2 separate regions of the Homo sapiens genome follow, and region 2 is linked to region 1. Evidence: promoter capture Hi-C in human tissues and cell types (Jung and others, 2019). All regions are on one chromosome and are shown on one strand. The core of a region is centred on a gene start or on the middle of the fragment in contact, and the rest is flanking DNA. Distances in the headings are between cores, read along the strand shown. Region 1 holds the start of CCDC171 (coiled-coil domain containing 171). Region 2 has its middle 39 kb from the start of SNAPC3.

Region 1 (3,753 bases), core at 1,151-3,650:
CATGGCCTTCTCAACAAAAGATTACTCAGACCTTCAGTCGATTCTCAATCCAGATAGCACCTTCACAGTTCTGGACCAAAACCAGGCCATCCTGTAGCAGTAATAGATAAAGAAAGGCAAGGTTCAAATTAGCTTTTTATGTTAATGTATTAATAGATTAATCTTTTTTTGATAGTGGAGTTGAACTAATCTCACCATTCCTACTAAAATAGATGATGGGATATTATGTGTATCATTCATCAATGAGAAGCATTTTTAAAAATAGATAAAAGGGTAATTGAGGCCAAGGGATCAGTGATCCCGACATCCTGAGAGGAGGTGCCAGCCAGAAAGGCGAATCTACTTTAGATTTCGGAGCCACTACTGGTAAAAAATTTTTCTACCTTACATCTGAGTCCTTCAGTTGGTCATCCCAAATGCACTCATCTTTCAGTGTGTCTGCACAGATCAGAGGAAAAACGAGGGATGGGTGGATGAAAAAATAGAAATTCCTATTATTGAGCCACTTACTATATGCCAGATACTGAGATCAGCATTCCTGATCTCATTTAATCCCAACATCTCTATGAGATTATGCACATTTCACAGATAAGAAAACTGAGGCTTGGAGATGTTGAATAATTTGTGTAAAAATATTCAGCCGGAAAATGAGAATTCAAATCCACATCTGGCTAAGTCCATCCTCTTTCACTACGCAGTGCTGTCTTCATTAGTAACCACACCTGTGTTGGAAGTGTTTCTCAGCATAGGTACATAATCAACCTTTAAAGGGGAAGTTTGGTTCTTACATCAAAACAAGACCAAGACCAAGGGACTGAGACAACCAAAACGTTTTAGAATCAAATGAGACTTTAGAGACTAAGTCCTTCCTCCTTATCTGACAGATAAAGAACCTAACGCCTAGGAAGGTTAGGTGGTTTGCCTGTGGGGACGCAGCTCATAAATGGCTGAGCCCCAAGACTAACACAGAAAGCTACAAACTAAGACTATGCCCTTCATCTTTCCTCTTAGCAGGTTGCACTGCCTTTGTTTCCTCTGCATTTTATGAAAAACCATGTTCATCTTCTGCTCTACCACTGTTTTGTTGAGAGTAGGAACTAACAGTTAAATAAAATAAGTGACATGCCGGGCGCAGTGGCTCACGCCTGTAATCCCAGCACTTTGGGAGGCCGAGGCGGGCGGATCACGATGTCAGGAGATCGAGACCATCCTGGCTAACACAGTGAAACCCCGTCTCCACTAAAAATACAAAAAAATTAGCCGGGCGTGGCGGCGTGCGCCGGTTGTCCCGGCTGCTGGGGAGGCTGAGACAGGAGAATGGCGTGAACCCGGGAGGCGGAGCTTGCAGTGAGCCGAGATCGCGCCACTGCACTCCAGCCTGGGTGACAGAGCAAGACTCCATCTCAAAAAAAAAAAAAAGTGACAAAATCGTATGTTCTTTTCTCCAATATTATGAAAACCATAAAACATCGGTATGTCATGTATTCAAAAGAGCTGGACACCAACTCTAATAAACAAAATAAAGACGTATTTATCTCATTTACCTAAAATGTATACATGAAATATGTATTTTCTTAGGATCAATATCATAATGGAATAAAAAAATTCAAAAAGTCGGCTCCATTTCTGCAGAAAATTTACAGCTTCGGGAAAACGCACAGCTGACTCAGATTCTAAGTCTCTCAGAGTCCTGGAGGGTAGGTAGAAGCTGCAGGTGACAGTCTAGCACAACTCATTCCCGTTTATCAAACATCTGTAGAGTGTCTAGTGTGTGGCCGGCATTTAAAAAGGGGAGAGCGGGCTGAAAGACGTGGTCCCTATCCTCGAGGGGCTTACTGATTCTCGGGAACGAAAGCGCTCCGCAGCAGTAACCCTAAGAAGCTCCAAATCCCGGTCCTCTGCCTCCCCTCTGGTCCCCATCCGGCGCTCTGGTACAGCCTCAGCGATCTCTGGCTAGGATGCTCCACGGAGATCTTCCTCCAGGTGGGCGGGGAGACCCAGCCCAGGGAGCTGGAGGCGTGCCCCAAAGCCTACGCCAACAGCCCCAGGGCCGCCCCAAACTCACTCAGGGGCCCCTACAACCCTCTCAACACCTCCCTCCCAAGTCGTCCGCCTCGAAGCCCCCACACCGTGCGGTTACCTCAGGGGTCTCGCGTGATCCGTGCTGCACACCCAAGACCCCAGGGGCCGCTCCAAGTCTCACGGGTGAAAGGAGGCCCAGGCAGCCCACGGGAATAAGAGCAAAAACTGTTGGAACACGACGGACTCCAGGACCCGGGAGGAGGGGGACAAACAGCAAAGGGGTACAGAAGGGGAAGAGCCCCCGGGAGGTGAAGTTTACAACTGCCACTTCCGGAGCTGAAAACACTCCGCTTCTCTCGCAGACCTTCCCAGACTTTCACAGGTCAGCCCAACTCAGGCCCGGCCCCACTTTTTCCTCCCGCCTCCCGCAGCCCTCAGCTTGCAGCTCCTGGATACGTACTCCGAGAACGCTGGCTCGGATTGGAAGAGCCCGCCCGCCAAGCAGCGCGCCTTCGCTGAGGGACGAACGGGCGCATGCGCCGTTGCTGGGGAGCGGCGGGCTCGCGACCGCACGCGCTCTCGCTCCAGGAGCTCCGCGTCCCCGCGCGGGGGTGCGCCCTGCCCACGCGCTGCTGTGGCTTTTCAGCGTGAGGTGTCCGCGTTCCTGTCTCAGTCGCCAGAGCCGAGTGGAAATGCAGATTTCCAGCTTCTAACCCCTTTTCCCTGCCTGCTGAATAAAAACCTAAGAGGTCGGATCCCAGATCCTGCTTTTTGAAACTGGTTCTTCTGCCCATCTTTAGAGCCACAGCAACGGTGGGCTGGTCCCGGGGCCTGGGGAGAAATTCTCTGGGCTCGGGTTCTGCCCAACTGCCTGGTTTACCTCTGTCTGGACAGCTCTCTGCCTGCACAGGGCATCCTGTCCCCTCTTCCCGTCCCCATTGTATCCCAGCTGGGAGTGGTGAGCAGGGTCGGAAGAATGCATTGATGCTGCTTGCAGTGCGTTTCATTATCAACATTACGTAACCAGGCACATCGTGGAAAACGCCTCGGAGCCTTAGCATGTGTGTTCCCTATCTCTTTCCTCGCTTCTCTCACTTTTCTCTGACACACACACACACACACACACACACACACACACACACACACACACCGTCCTCTTATTGATAATTTATACTTTGGTTCCTCCCGGTGGCTGCTTCACAATCTGCTGCCGCCTAAGGGAGACTGGAAAACCAACTCCTCTTTTGTTCCTTAACTTTTGAAAGCCTATTCTTCCAGAGAACAATGCAAATTGACAGGATTTGGTCAAAGATTTTTATCTTCACCACCACCACCTCCTCTGCACAAAAAGGTGTTTAATGCAAAACGAGCCTTCTATACTAAACTGGGTCCTTGTTGATTGTAATCAACCTGAAACCAGGTGTAGGGGCCGTCTTTTCTCTCTCCCATGGGAGAGCCAACGGTCATAAATGCAAACACAAATTGAGATTAAAACCTCCTTGATTCTTGTAGCACTGAAACCTTAATTGGTTTGATTTTAGTCATTTACATCTAAAACGGAGGCCTGTCCCTGATTCTTTTTACTAGAGCCATAAAGAGGACAATTGCTCCAGAGGAAATAAAGGGAAAAAATAGCCCACTCTAAAGTTTAGAAATGAAATGGAAAATTACAACTGACTAATGAGATTAGAACTTTTATGTTACAAGCTTTAAAAAATATTTTTAAATTTT
Region 2 (4,058 bases), core at 1,393-3,892, 170 kb after region 1:
TTAGTAGAGACAAAGTTATGGCATGTTGGCCAGGCTGGTCTTGAACTCCTGGGCTCAAATCATCCGCCTGCCTCAGCCTCCTAAAGTGAGCATTTCTTTTGTTGAGGCAGTGCTAATAGTCCAGTCTTCAGAGACCACAACTGTGGTGTCCTTATGCTACCAATTCTGGGGTGTGGTTTGTGATAGTGATTTGACTGCATAGCCTCTGCAGGTGATTTGATGAACTACCCAATAGCCTTTAATTTTTTTCCTCTTATGTTTAAATCAACCAGAGTCAGTTTCTGCTGTTTGCAACTTTACAATATAATACAAACTTCATTTGTATACTTTGCTGCTTCCTATTTTTAGTGAATCTATTATAGGTTTTTGTGTTGTAGTTACCATGAGGCTTACAAAGAACATCTTATAGATATAACCAATTATTTTAAAGAAATGACACCTTATCTTAGATCACAAAGAATGCAATAGGCTTGTTTTGTAGCCTAAAATATGGTCTCTGGAGAATGTTACATGTGCTAATGAAAAGATATTTATTTATTTATTCTTTTTCTTTTTTTAAATAATAGAGAAAGGGGTCTCACCATGTTGCCCAGGATAGTCTCAAACTCCTGGGCTTAAGGAATTCACCCACCTTGGTCTCCCAAAGCGCTGGGATTTACAGCCATGAGACGCCTTAATTGGGCCTTTTTTTTTTTTTTAAACTTCATTTTTGAAATACCTCCTTTGGTTGATTAGTTCTGCACTCCCATTTCCTCCTCCTTCCAGTAGACACTAATTCTCACGTGTTAATATCTACCTTGAACTTGAATGTGTTCTTATAAAATACATAGTATTTTTGTGTGTATGTTTTTAAATTCACATAATTAGTATTTTGCCAGGGATCTCGTTCTTTTCTATCTTTTTAAAAGCTCAGCACTAACCTTTAAAAAGTCTATATTGTTATATATCAAAGCAAGTTGCATTTATTTCAGGTTGGTGCAAAAGTAATTGCAATTTTCACCAGTACTTCATTGTTAAAACTGCAATTACTTTTGCACCAACCTAAGAACTGCTGCATGAAGGTGTTTCTGCCTCAGGCCTAGGATTTTGAACTTCCCTTTACCACATAAACATTGCAGTGAACATCCTTGTACACGTAGCCTCATGCACATCTATGTGAGAATGTCTCGTGTATATTTTACCAGGAGGAAGTTGTTGGAACATGGGGAACACATTTGTTAAATTTCATTAAGTACTGCCATATTATGCCCCCAGAATGATCGTAGGAGTCACCTACCAATAGTGTTCTCATTTCTCATATCCTTGCCAATACTTATTATTCATCATTTTAATTCTTTTTTTTTTTTTTTTGAGTTGGAGTTTTGCTCTTGTTGCCTAGGCTGGAGTGCAATGGTGTGATCTTGGCTCACTGCAACCTCCGCCTCCTGGGTTCAAGCAATTCTTCTGCCTCAGCCTCCTGAGTAGCTGGGATTACAGGCGCCTGCCACCATGCCCAGCTAATTTTTTGTATTTTTAGTAGAGACAGGGTTTCATCATATTGACCAGGCTGGTCTTGAACTTCTGACCTCAGGTGATCTACCCGCCTCGGGCTCCCAAAGTGCTGGGATTACAGGCTTCAACCACCACTCCCGGCCTCATCATTTTAATTCTAAAATGCTGCAATATTTCACAGCTACCATAGAGAACTAATACAACAGCTTGATGATTTTTTAAATATAGTATACGTCTGTCAACCCACCACCTGGGACACTGGATTGAAGGTGGGTGCCCTGTGGAGGTGGGTGGGAGCAGTGGGGTTGGCCACAGGCAGATTTCCCTGGTATCAGAGACCTCAATAGCAGACAGCTTTGACAGGAACCGGACCCAAACATGGAGAGAATAATAGATACTACTGAGGTTCCTAAAAATAACCAGGAAACTTTACAAGGAGATGGATGATGTTGGGAATGCAATCTGTTTTTCCAGGTTTGGGTGGGTGGGGTGCATGTATTAACTTTCTGCCTGGCCCCTAGACAACATGGTCCTTGAACCTAAGGACTATATCTTATACATGGTTATATTTCCAGTCTCTAAAACATTTCACGGCCCAGGATACTCACTAAATGTTTTTTGAATGACGAGCTACATTCTCTTGACATAGTCTCTTTTATCTACAAAATGAAGAGTTTTCTCCCATGTTGAAATGACGTTTATTTTGCCTTTTCTTTCTACGTCCCAGCTAGCACTTAATTCTAGACTTCCCTACCAACGTTAGCTAAAAAGTTTTCAGCTGTTGGCATCTCAGTTTCAATATAATCTTCACAACTTGGTCCTGATCTTTTTCATCCTGGTCTTACAGCGTTTTGTCATGTGCTCCTGCAATATTTAGGTCTTAGGACATGTTCTTGAATTACAAAAGCTCCGGGCTTGGTTCCTATAATGGCTTCTACCCCTAATCAACCCTGGGAATGCCTACTCACCCTGAGTTCCAAATAAAATATCACCTCTTTAGGTATAACTTCTCTGGTCCCCCAGGCAGAATTAGCCACCTCCTTGCTTATTTCCTCAAGTACTTTTTTCTTACTCTCATAGCCCTTAACTTGAGGTATCCTGATTTCTCTCTTAACATGTTCCTTCTGCATTGAAGGGAGGTCATCTCCTGAATAGGTTTATCTGGGTCCATATTTATTTACTTACTTATATATATTTTTGAGGCAGGGTCTTACTCTGTAGCCAAGGCTGGAGTGCCGTGGTTCGATCATAGCTCACTGCAGCCTTGGTCTCCTTGGCTTAAGGGATCCTCCCACCTCAGCCTCCTCCTGAGTAGCTGGAACCACAGGCATGCACCATCACACCTGGCTAATTTTTTTTTTTAATTAATTGTTTGTAGAGATGGGGGTCCCACTATGTTTCCCAGGCTGGTCTTGAACTCCTGGGCTCAGGCGATCCTCCCACCTCAGCCTCCCTAAGTGCTGAAATTACAGATGTGATCCACTGCACCTGGCCAGTCTGGGTCCTCATTGATGAGCATAGTGCATACCACATAGGGGGTGCTTATATTATTTATGGTTCTACAGAGAAACAGAACTATTAGGATTAATTTCAAGGAATTGGTTCATATCATTGTGGGGGATGGCAAGTCTGAAACTTGCAGGCTGGAAATTCTGGTATGAGCTAATATTGCAGCCTTGAGTTGAAAAATCTCAGGGAAGCCAGCAGCCTGGAAGGTCAGGTAGGATTTTTCTGTTGAGACAGAATTGCTTCTTCTTCAGGGAACCTCAGTCTTTGCCCTTGAAGCGTTCAACTGATGGGATGAAGCTTGATTGAAATAATCTGCTTAACTTAAAGTCAACTGATAGTAATTGTTATACCTTGGTCAAAAATACCTTGACGGCAACATGTAGACAAGCCTTTGACCAAACAACTGGGCACCATAGACTAGCCAAGAAGACACATAAACTGATCATCACAGTGCTTAATAAATGTTTGTTGCATAAATAAACGAATAGATTTATTCATTCAACACAATAAGTGTTACACAAGTTCAGAGAAAAGACCAGTGGGCTTTGACATGGATTTCTAGACTTACAATTTTCTTAACAAGTAATAGAATAATCATATTTTGTTCATTGAGCAGGATGCCATCAGAATGTCCTCCAAAAAACAGAGAGAGAGAATACACACATTTGCGAATTAAACAAATTTAGATACATGGACACATGAAGTATAACCATCCAATTACTTTTATTCTAGGTGGGGGAAATATGGCATTAATAAACTTTGATCAAAATTATTTTACTATTAATTGTTGTGGTACCAATGAAAACATTTTAAGAGGAAAATAAGAAGGCTTTGAAGTGGTTCTTTTTTTTTTTTAGATTCAGGGTCTTGGTCTGTCACCTAGGCAGTGGCAGGATCATAGCTCACTGTAGCCTGGGCTCAAGCGATCCTCCCACCTGAGCCTCCCAAGTAGCTAGGAATCTAGGTATGTACCACTGTGGCCAGCTAATTTTTTTAAACTCTTAGCCTCAAGCAATCCTTCTGCCTTGGCCTCCCAAAATGCTAGGATTATGTGAGCC

What was found. The method cuts DNA at HindIII sites, captures the fragments that hold promoters and counts their contacts. A contact is called where the count stands out against the background at its distance.
Region 2: a contact is called between a fragment that was not itself captured here and the fragment with the promoter of CCDC171 in region 1, in 1 of the 25 tissues and cell types used here (heart left ventricle).

Annotation. Positions count from the first base shown.
Region 1 is chr9:15,551,690-15,555,442 of GRCh38, reverse strand. CCDC171 (coiled-coil domain containing 171) reads right to left here and starts at 2,400. Exons shown (of 26, transcript NM_173550.4): 1 at 2,141-2,400. RefSeq lists enhancers at 2,093-2,262, 2,158-2,803 and silencers at 2,543-2,632, 2,643-2,702. The HindIII fragment of the contact is 9,052 bases long and covers 1-3,753 here.
Region 2 is chr9:15,381,963-15,386,020 of GRCh38, reverse strand. No RefSeq gene overlaps it. Among named protein-coding and RNA genes, the nearest start is that of SNAPC3, 39 kb to the left of the region's middle. The HindIII fragment of the contact is 9,430 bases long and covers 1-4,058 here.